Regions from separate parts of the Homo sapiens genome. Here region 2 is linked to region 1. The links are contacts of gene promoters, found by promoter capture Hi-C in blood cells and fetal thymus (Javierre and others, 2016). All regions are on one chromosome and are shown on one strand. Each heading gives the region's core, a stretch centred on a gene start or on the middle of the fragment in contact. The rest is flanking DNA. Distances are from core to core; before and after follow the strand shown. Region 1 holds the start of HSD17B2 (hydroxysteroid 17-beta dehydrogenase 2). Region 2 has its middle 91 kb from the start of MPHOSPH6.

Region 1 (4,089 bases), core at 1,260-3,759:
AGGCAGTGGGTACTCTCAACAATGAGAAAAGTGCCTACCATCCATGAGTGCCTGTAAGTGCCAGGGACGATGCAAGAATGGTGTCATTCACTTTTCAAAACAGCCCTTGGAAGAAAGACTCCTCCTACCGCCAATTTACAGAAGAGGAAACTGAGGCTTAGGAAGGGCAGGTAACTTGCCCAGTGCCTCACAGCTAAGCCAGGATTCGAACTCAATTTAGAAGTCTGTGAGACCCGAAAGCTCATGTTCTTAATACTGTTCAGCCCCTTCACCATCAGGGCTCAGGGAGTATCCTTCATGGGACTTCTGTGTGGCCTGAGGGTGGCTTTTGCTCATAGATTTTACCCTCCCCTTGGGAGCCCCAGGACAGAGTAGGTCTGGGAACTCGCAAGGGCTGCCTCCAGGAGAAAAGCCACCTCTCTCAAGTGGGCGTGCACTTGGCAGGAAGCCTGCGCAGGTGTTTGGCTCAGCCCAAATGTGGGAGCCACTGACCAAATGCCAAGACTCTCAGCGAAGAGCCATAGCTAGTCCTGTCTCCCCACCTGGAAGCTGTTTTTCGAACGGAGCTAACTGCCAGGATGCTCTGGGCTGGTGAGGCCACAAGGATTGTGAGAGGTGCCCTGTGGCTCAGATGGCACCCAGGAAGGAATTGGGGTCTGTTGAGGGAGGGAGAGTTCAGGGCTAGCCAAAGGCAATTCCAGATCCCTGCCCCTAAGCTTCCTGGCCTGGAGCTGGTAACGTCTCCCTGACTCAAATGTCCATGTGGCTGGGAGGGCAGACAACAGTTGCCATCACTCCACGCAGACCCTCATAACTGCCTTGTTGTCCAACCCCACAGTCCCACAGCACAGTAATGGTTCACAAGACACTGCTTCCCACCCCTTCTCCCTTGGGTCTTGAGTTGGCTTTGAGCCCAGGTGGGCTCTGCCTCACCTCCCTTTACAGGGGATACGCTGCTGGGTCCCTTCCTTCCCGAGTCCTGCCTCCCCAACATCATCCACAAAAGGCATCCTCTCCCTTCCTCCTCCTGCCCCTCATTTAACTCCAGCACGTGTTTTGAGACAAGTCTATACTCCACTGGACACTTTGTTTTACACGACTTCCTCTTATTCTTCATTCTCCTCCTGTTTAAAAAACATGAATCACTAGCATTTATGAGGTTCCTTCTACTGTTCCAGGCAGGATATGATATTATTTTATAGCCAAAGGGATGAAGATCTAGGGAGGTGAAGTGACCCTCCCAAGACTATGTAATTAATAAGTAGTGGAGTTAAGATTAGATTTGAATAGAGGGAAACTGACCTCAAATAGAGAATGTTTCTCTCTAGCTATGCCAAAGTCCAGCCTTTATCACAACCTTGCCTCCCTCCAGCCAGGCATGTGGCCCACATGGGGCACGCCCTGAGCCCAGGTGCGGTGACCCCTCTCTGGCTTAGCACGGTTAGGTGGTGCTGTAGTTGCAGAGTGCTGGCTTTTAAGCCGCTTGTGAGTAAGGGATTTATTTTTTCCCAGCCTCAGTTTTTCTCTCTGTAAACTGACCATAATAATAACACCCACCTCAAACAGTTTTATAAGGTTGAAATGGGGTGAAAGTAGGAAAGATCTAGCACATAATGCACTAATTTTTTTTTTTTTTTTTGCCTAAAGCAGGCAGTGGAATAGAATGCTTAGGGGCATACAGCTCTGAGATCAGGCTGCAAGACTCCACTGCTGTGTGATCTTGACTAAGTCTCTTACCCTCTCTGTGTCCTGGTTTCCTCACCTGTAAAATTACTATAATACTAGAATCAACTTCATAAGGATATTGTATTCAAGGAGGATGAGAGGAGTCCCAGTGAATGGAGGCTGGCATAGAATAGGCTTACAATAAAGAGAAAGAACAAATAAGCAGCTATACACAGCCTCTGCCACAAAAAACTACCAATAGATATTAGCCGCTATTAGTTAATTGTCATTATTATCTCTCCCTGGCATGTTTCCACTCAGGCAAGACCAAAGCACTTTCCTCTACCAAGGAATATCTTCCTCTACTTTCATATCCCTCTCCATCCAACCCTTCAGCCTGCCTCAGTTGGGATTTGTAGGAGTCCTGAAGCTATGGACCAGATCAGAGGTGCCTTCCCTTCCAGAATCTATTTTCCAAACTTCATCGATTGCCTATATTTATATGCATGCATGCACACACACGCACACACACACACACACTCTCACTCACTCCCGAGTCAGAAAAAGGACTCAGCACCCAGACATACTGCAGGCTCTTGAAGAAGACAGTATTTTCCTGTGAGCTAGAGGATCTTCCTGTTATTCTCCATGCAGTTCAAATTCTGTCAATTATTATCCAGTTAGTCATCGCTCCAGAGGTGGACTGTCATTAAAAAAAAATAGAAGGTGTGTGTTTGTGGGTGAGTATGTGCATGTGTTGTGTATGCAGGGGGTGGGGAGGGGCGAGAGCGGTCAAATAGGAAGTGCCTTGGTATTTATGTTGAAGTGCACACTGGTTTAAATTACCCACTGGGAATATGATTATGCTTAATCTATGCTCAGTTGAAAGGGGCTGGGGCTGCTTTCTCCCCTCCCTTCTTGACTCTCTGTTCACAGAACTCAGGCTGCCTCCAGCCAGCCTTTGCCCGCTAGACTCACTGGCCCTGAGCACTTGAAGGTGCAGCAAGTCACTGAGAATGAGCACTTTCTTCTCGGACACAGCATGGATCTGCCTGGCTGTCCCCACAGTACTATGTGGGACAGTATTTTGCAAATACAAGAAGAGCTCAGGGCAGCTGTGGAGCTGGATGGTCTGCCTGGCAGGCCTCTGTGCAGTCTGCCTGCTCATCCTGTCCCCTTTTTGGGGCTTGATCCTCTTCTCGGTGTCATGCTTCCTCATGTATACTTACTTATCTGGCCAAGAATTGTTACCTGTGGATCAGAAGGCAGTCCTGGTGACAGGTAAGCAGACGGTGCTACAATTTTCACTGAGGGTATGATCTGAAACTTGCTTTGCCTTAGCAGGACTTTGTCAAATCTGGCTTAAAAATAAAATACTTGGCATGGAGTAAATGAAAGCCCTCACCCAAGTATTTTTCATGACACTGTTTTCGTTCCGTTTTTTCCAGGAGGTGCATTTGAAGGGGCTGGTAGTGGGAGGGAAGGAGAGGATGAAGTGCACCCAGACAATGATTTTGTTAAAATTTCCCAGGAATAAATATTAATAGGCAAAATGGCAATATTTCATGTGTTCTATTGTACCCAGGAATGTCCCATAGATTGTTTTTTAGGCTTAAATGGACTTTTGTTCTGACATCATTGTTTGGCCAGGTTCTCCACCTGGACTCTTCTTCCCTAGGTATGCAAGAACGCTTACAAGCCAAGTTCTACTTGTCCCTTGCTGTTTTGAAATATTGAAGGGATTCACTTACCTGGGCTGGAGACTTTGCAGTTTGCTTGGCTGCTGTCAAGAACCTTGTGTCCTGTCTGAACTGTTCCTCATTAGACCTCTAATGTTTCTTAATTGGACCAACTTGGCATCGTGTCCAACATTCAGTTGCCTGTTAGCTGAGCTGCCAGTTTTTCCCTTGTTTGTGTGTGTGTGTGTGTGTGTGTGTGTGTGTGTGTGTGTGTGTTTCCCCATTGCAAGTGTGAGGCCAAATTAAATTTCTTTGAGTTGTAAAATTTTTGCTTGGTTATGGAGTTTAAGCTTGGATAGGGCTGTAATTAGGATTATCCAGCGTTATCCTAACCCAGAAAGCCCTACCAAATAAAAAAAAAATCAGCTGTGGAATCATTTGGGGGAGATCATCACCCCTCTGACCATGATCCTCAGGGTGAAGGCAAGAATGGCATGGGGATGTGGTTGGGAGAAAATCTGGGGCTTGACAATTTGCAGAGAAACAGACTTTGTTTTTGGGTTAAAGTAAAATGCTTTCTTGAAACAAAATGCAAATTGGTGCTTGTTGGGGTTAGACAAGCCACAGAAAAGAAGCTTCTTTAAATTAATTTTTGAAAGTTTAGAGGGAGAAAATTCAGTCAATGGGATGTTTATCTGCAAGAATGTCTGATATCACCTGGAATCATGTATCTGGGAGTCTGGCT
Region 2 (4,312 bases), core at 755-3,254, 230 kb after region 1:
GTGGTGATGGCATTGTTGGCAAAGAAATGCAGGAATTAACTGAGGATCAAGAGAAGCTTTGAGCAAGGGGGCAAGAGGGGGGAACTTATAGGCTTGTCCTCAGAAGACATTTGTGGTCGATTTGGGGATTTTAAAGATCAAGTTAGACTCTTGGTCATTTTTGCTCTTTACCTGCTGACAGCCTTGCGAACCATTCAAGGAAGTGCTGGAACATGGCAGAAAGCACAGAAGATAAAATCTTTGCCTTCTGGGCACAGGGTCTGGTGTGGAAGGCAACAAAATCAAATAGCAATCACAAAACCATACAAAAAAGACAGAGATAGGAGTGTGTGCAGAGTTGGGGTAGCACAGAACAGGGAGCTTCTGAAGGTAAGGTCGAGTGTATTAGTCTCCCAGAACTGTAGTAACAAATTCCCACACACTTGCTGGCTTAAAACAACAGAAATTTATTCTCTCACAGTTCTGGAGGCCAGAAGTCTGAAGTCAAGGTGTCAGTAGGGCCATGCTTCCTCCAAAGGCTCTGGGGGAAGACCCTTCCTTTTCTCTTCCAGCTTCTGGTGGTTCCTGGCATCATTCCTTGACTTGTGGCTGCATCACTTTAGTCTCATGGCTCCTTTCCTCCTTCTCCCTGTGCCGCTCCTCTGTGTGTCTCTTACAAGGGCACTTGCCATTGAATTTAGGGCCCACTCAGATTAGGATGATCATATCTCAAGATCTTTAACTTAACTACATTTGCAAGCCTGCCTGCCTGCCTGCCTGCCTGCCTGCCTTCCTTCCTTCCTCCCTGACTGCCTTCCTTCCTTCCTTCTTTCCTTCCTTCCTTCCTTCCTACCTTCCTACCTTCCTTCCTTCTTTCCTTCCTTCCTTCTTTCCTTCCTTCCTTCTTTCCTTCCTTCCTTCCTGCCTGCCTGCCTGCCTGCCTTCTTTCCTTCCTTCCCTCCTTCCTTCCTTCCTTCCTTCCTTCCTTCCTTCCTTCCTTCCTTCCTTCCTTCCTTCCTTCCTTCGTTCCTTGACAGGGTCTCACACTGTCACCCAGGCTGGAGTGCAGTGGCGTGATCTCAGCTCACTGCAACATCTGCCACCGAGGCTCAAGCAATCCTCTTACCTCAGCCTCCGGAGTAGCTGAGACCACAGACATGTGCCACCATGCCTGGCTAACTTTTCTGTATTTTTGTGGAGCTGGGGTTTCACCATTGATGTGGTTTGGTTGTGTTCCCACCCAAATCTCATCTTGAATTGTACCTCCCATAATTACAACATGTTGTGGGAGGGACTGGTGGGAGATAATTTAATCATGACGGTGGTTTCCTCCATACTGTTCTCTTGGTAGTGAATAAGCCTCATGAGAAGCCGTGGTTTTACATGGGGAAACCCCTTTTGCTTGGCTCTCACTTCTCTCTTGTCTGCCACCATGTGAGATGTGCCTTTTGCCTTCTGCCATGATTGTAAGTCCTCTCCAGCCACATGGAACTGTAAATCCATTAAACCTCTTTTTCTTTATAAATGACCTAGTCTCAGGTATGTCTTTATCAGCAGCATGAAAATGGACTAATACAACCATGTTTCCCAGGCTGGTCTTGAACTCCTGGGCTCAAGTGATCCACCCACCTCGGCCTCCCAAAGTGGGTGGATTATAGGTATGATCTATCACACCAGGCCCTACAGGCCCTTTTTATTTTCACATTAACAGGTTCTGGGGTTTAGGATGTAGACGTATCTTTTTAGAGACCACCATTTAACCCCATTACATTAGGGAAGTCTCCTTGGATGCAATAAACAGTTTGTCTAAATCCTGAAGCAATTAGCTAGGTGAAAGGGTAGAGGAAATTATTCCAAAAGGAGGGAGGAGCATGTGCAAAGGTCCTGTTGAAAGAGACTCTGCAGCCATTCATGCATACCATGAGACTTCTGGAGTACAGGGGGAGTGTGTGTAGCATATCGTGGAGTGAGGAAAGGGAGATGTTTTGGGCTAGGGAGGTATGCAAGGCCCATATTCCAGACAGCCTGGGATGACATGATAAAGAGATTGGAGAAACTACTAAAGAATTTTAAACAGGGAGGCAATATGAGCCAATTGGCATTTAGAAAGATCACTTTGGACAATTTGTGGAGGATGGGGTGCAGCAAGTCCAGTGGTGGCGAAGCTAGTTAGCAAAACTTTTGCTCAGTAAATGTGCATTGGCTTGAATCCTCCCTCTCCTTATTTCACAGATTCTATTTTCTTACATTAGCGTGTGATTTTTGCTGGGCTGTTGGATGCTATTTAACATGCTAAGCCAATCTACTTACTTGTAATGCTCATCACTAATAGGAAACAAGATGCTGGCCTCACAAGGTAAACTGGCCTCACTCAGTTGACAAAGTCCCTTGCACTGATGATCAAAGATTGTAAATGGATTAAACAGGTTGACGGTGTCAGTTCCAATTTTTTGAGCTACCAAATCATCTTGTCAACAATTAGCATCTACAAAATATGAAGACGGATACATCACTGTTTCAGAAAAGACTGAGGAATTCTGGGTGTTGCTCTGGATATGACACAGATTTCTCCCTTACCACTGCTTTGTAGTGGCTGCTGAAATTAAGGCTTGAATGCTTTAAGAATACCTATTGAACCTCCTCTAGGTGTCAAGGATATCCAGGATTTAGCAGAGAACCAAACAGCCTGTGCCTTCGAAGAGCTCACAGTCTAGAAAGGGGTGGTGGTACTTCTGTGCTAGAGAAGAGAGGGGGGTTCTGTATATTTCCTAAATGCCCCACCAGAGGGGCTAAAGGGGGAAGGTTGCAGAGTCCTCTGTTTTGGCTTCATGCTGCAGTGCCTGACTCTGCCTTGAAGGTGTCTTGTTCAGTGGTGGGATCACTCTGCTTGTTGGTGACAACCTGGGTATAGAGATGCCTTCTGAGTACATTCCTTAGATGTCCTCCCTGTGCTCCCACTCCCCTGTCCACTCTTTGGGGGTTAGCATCATCACTGTCCATGCCCTCCAATGGGATTAGCTCCCTTCCTGACCCCAGGGATCTCTTACAGCATGGAAGTGCATTTCTCCAGGTCCATTTATTCATCTGTTCATCCTGCAAACATGTACTGGCCGCTGACTGCTTATAATGTCCGGTGCCAGCGCTTGGGATTAATATAGACACAAATTAGACATGAGTCTTGCCTTTAAGATGCTTAACATTCATGTCACCCACTTAAAGCAAGGGTGGACTGTGGGAGGGCTAGTGATAAGCAGGGTGAGATTTCACTGGCAAGAGGCACTGATGCCATTGGAAGGGGCTGGGTTTGTGGGTGTGAGAGTGGTGGGAAATGTAGGGCAGGAAGAGAAAATGGTGAAGCTGCCCTTTGAAGGGTTTGACTAGGTGAGGATGGGTCAGATTCACCCTGACACACCTGGCCAGGGCTGATCCTAGTCTGGAATTAGATGTCTGGGTTCAGAACCCATGCTATCTGTGAGACCATGTGCAAAGGTCCTCACCAGCTAGGCCCCATTACCTCATCTGTGAAATGAGATACACATAGTTCTTCCTTCCTGGTGATTCCCTGGAGATTTGGCCAGCTTCGTATGATGCTTTGGGCACAACCCCCAGCATGGCATCAACTCTTGATCAGTACCAGCTAGCTGCCATTGCTGTTAGCCAATCCGGGGAGAGAAGGGACTTTTCTGACACTGCGAGCTTGGAACAGGCGTCTAGTACCATATATTTAGGAGACTGGAAGGGAAAACTTGACCATTTCTTTGAGTTGTAAACTTGCCTGGTAGCAAGGAGGAGAAAAAGGTGAGCAAGTCCCATGTCTAAAACCCTATTAAAGGCTCTTTATTTTTTCCTGGCTCTAGGGCTGCGTTTTCTACCTGTTGTTATGAAAACATGGCCTAAAATATCTCTAGCCAAGCAGTCCAGAGCCCATGGGAACTGTCAAAACTGGGATTGGAGCATAAATATGAAATGACACGAAGCTTCATGTTCTGTTATTAAACTTCACAGCTAGAATTTTTGAAAGCAAATTATCTTGTAGAAATATTCTTGTTACGTTAAACTGGAAATGAAAATAACTTATTTATTTGCTTAGATCAAATTGTTGCATGCAAAGTTAGGCTGTGTTGTTTTTCCACTGCCAAATGCTTTGACGCATTCCTTTAACCAAACAGTTTAAATGTGAATATTAGTTAAGATGCATCAACCACAGTGGGTTGTCAGCCTCCTAAGGATTGTATCCTTTCAAATGGGTCAATGAATAGAGATTTAAAATAGAAGTCAGATACTTTAATGTTTTTCGCATTCAACCAAGAGAACAATTTGCTTGCAGATAGTA

Evidence for each region. The method cuts DNA at HindIII sites, captures the fragments that hold promoters and counts their contacts. A CHiCAGO score of 5 or more calls a contact.
Region 2: a fragment that was not itself captured here is called in contact with the fragment with the promoter of HSD17B2 in region 1 in 3 of 17 cell types (M1 macrophages, monocytes and M0 macrophages); the score reaches 6.1 in M1 macrophages.

What each region holds. Positions count from the first base shown.
Region 1 is chr16:82,032,744-82,036,832 of GRCh38, forward strand. It overlaps HSD17B2 (hydroxysteroid 17-beta dehydrogenase 2), which reads left to right and starts at 2,510. Exons shown (of 5, transcript NM_002153.3): 1 at 2,510-2,946. The coding sequence starts at 2,682. The HindIII fragment of the contact is 2,978 bases long and covers 715-3,692 here.
Region 2 is chr16:82,259,258-82,263,569 of GRCh38, forward strand. No RefSeq gene overlaps it. Among named protein-coding and RNA genes, the nearest start is that of MPHOSPH6, 91 kb to the left of the region's middle. RefSeq lists an enhancer at 843-1,342. The HindIII fragment of the contact is 3,900 bases long and covers 55-3,954 here.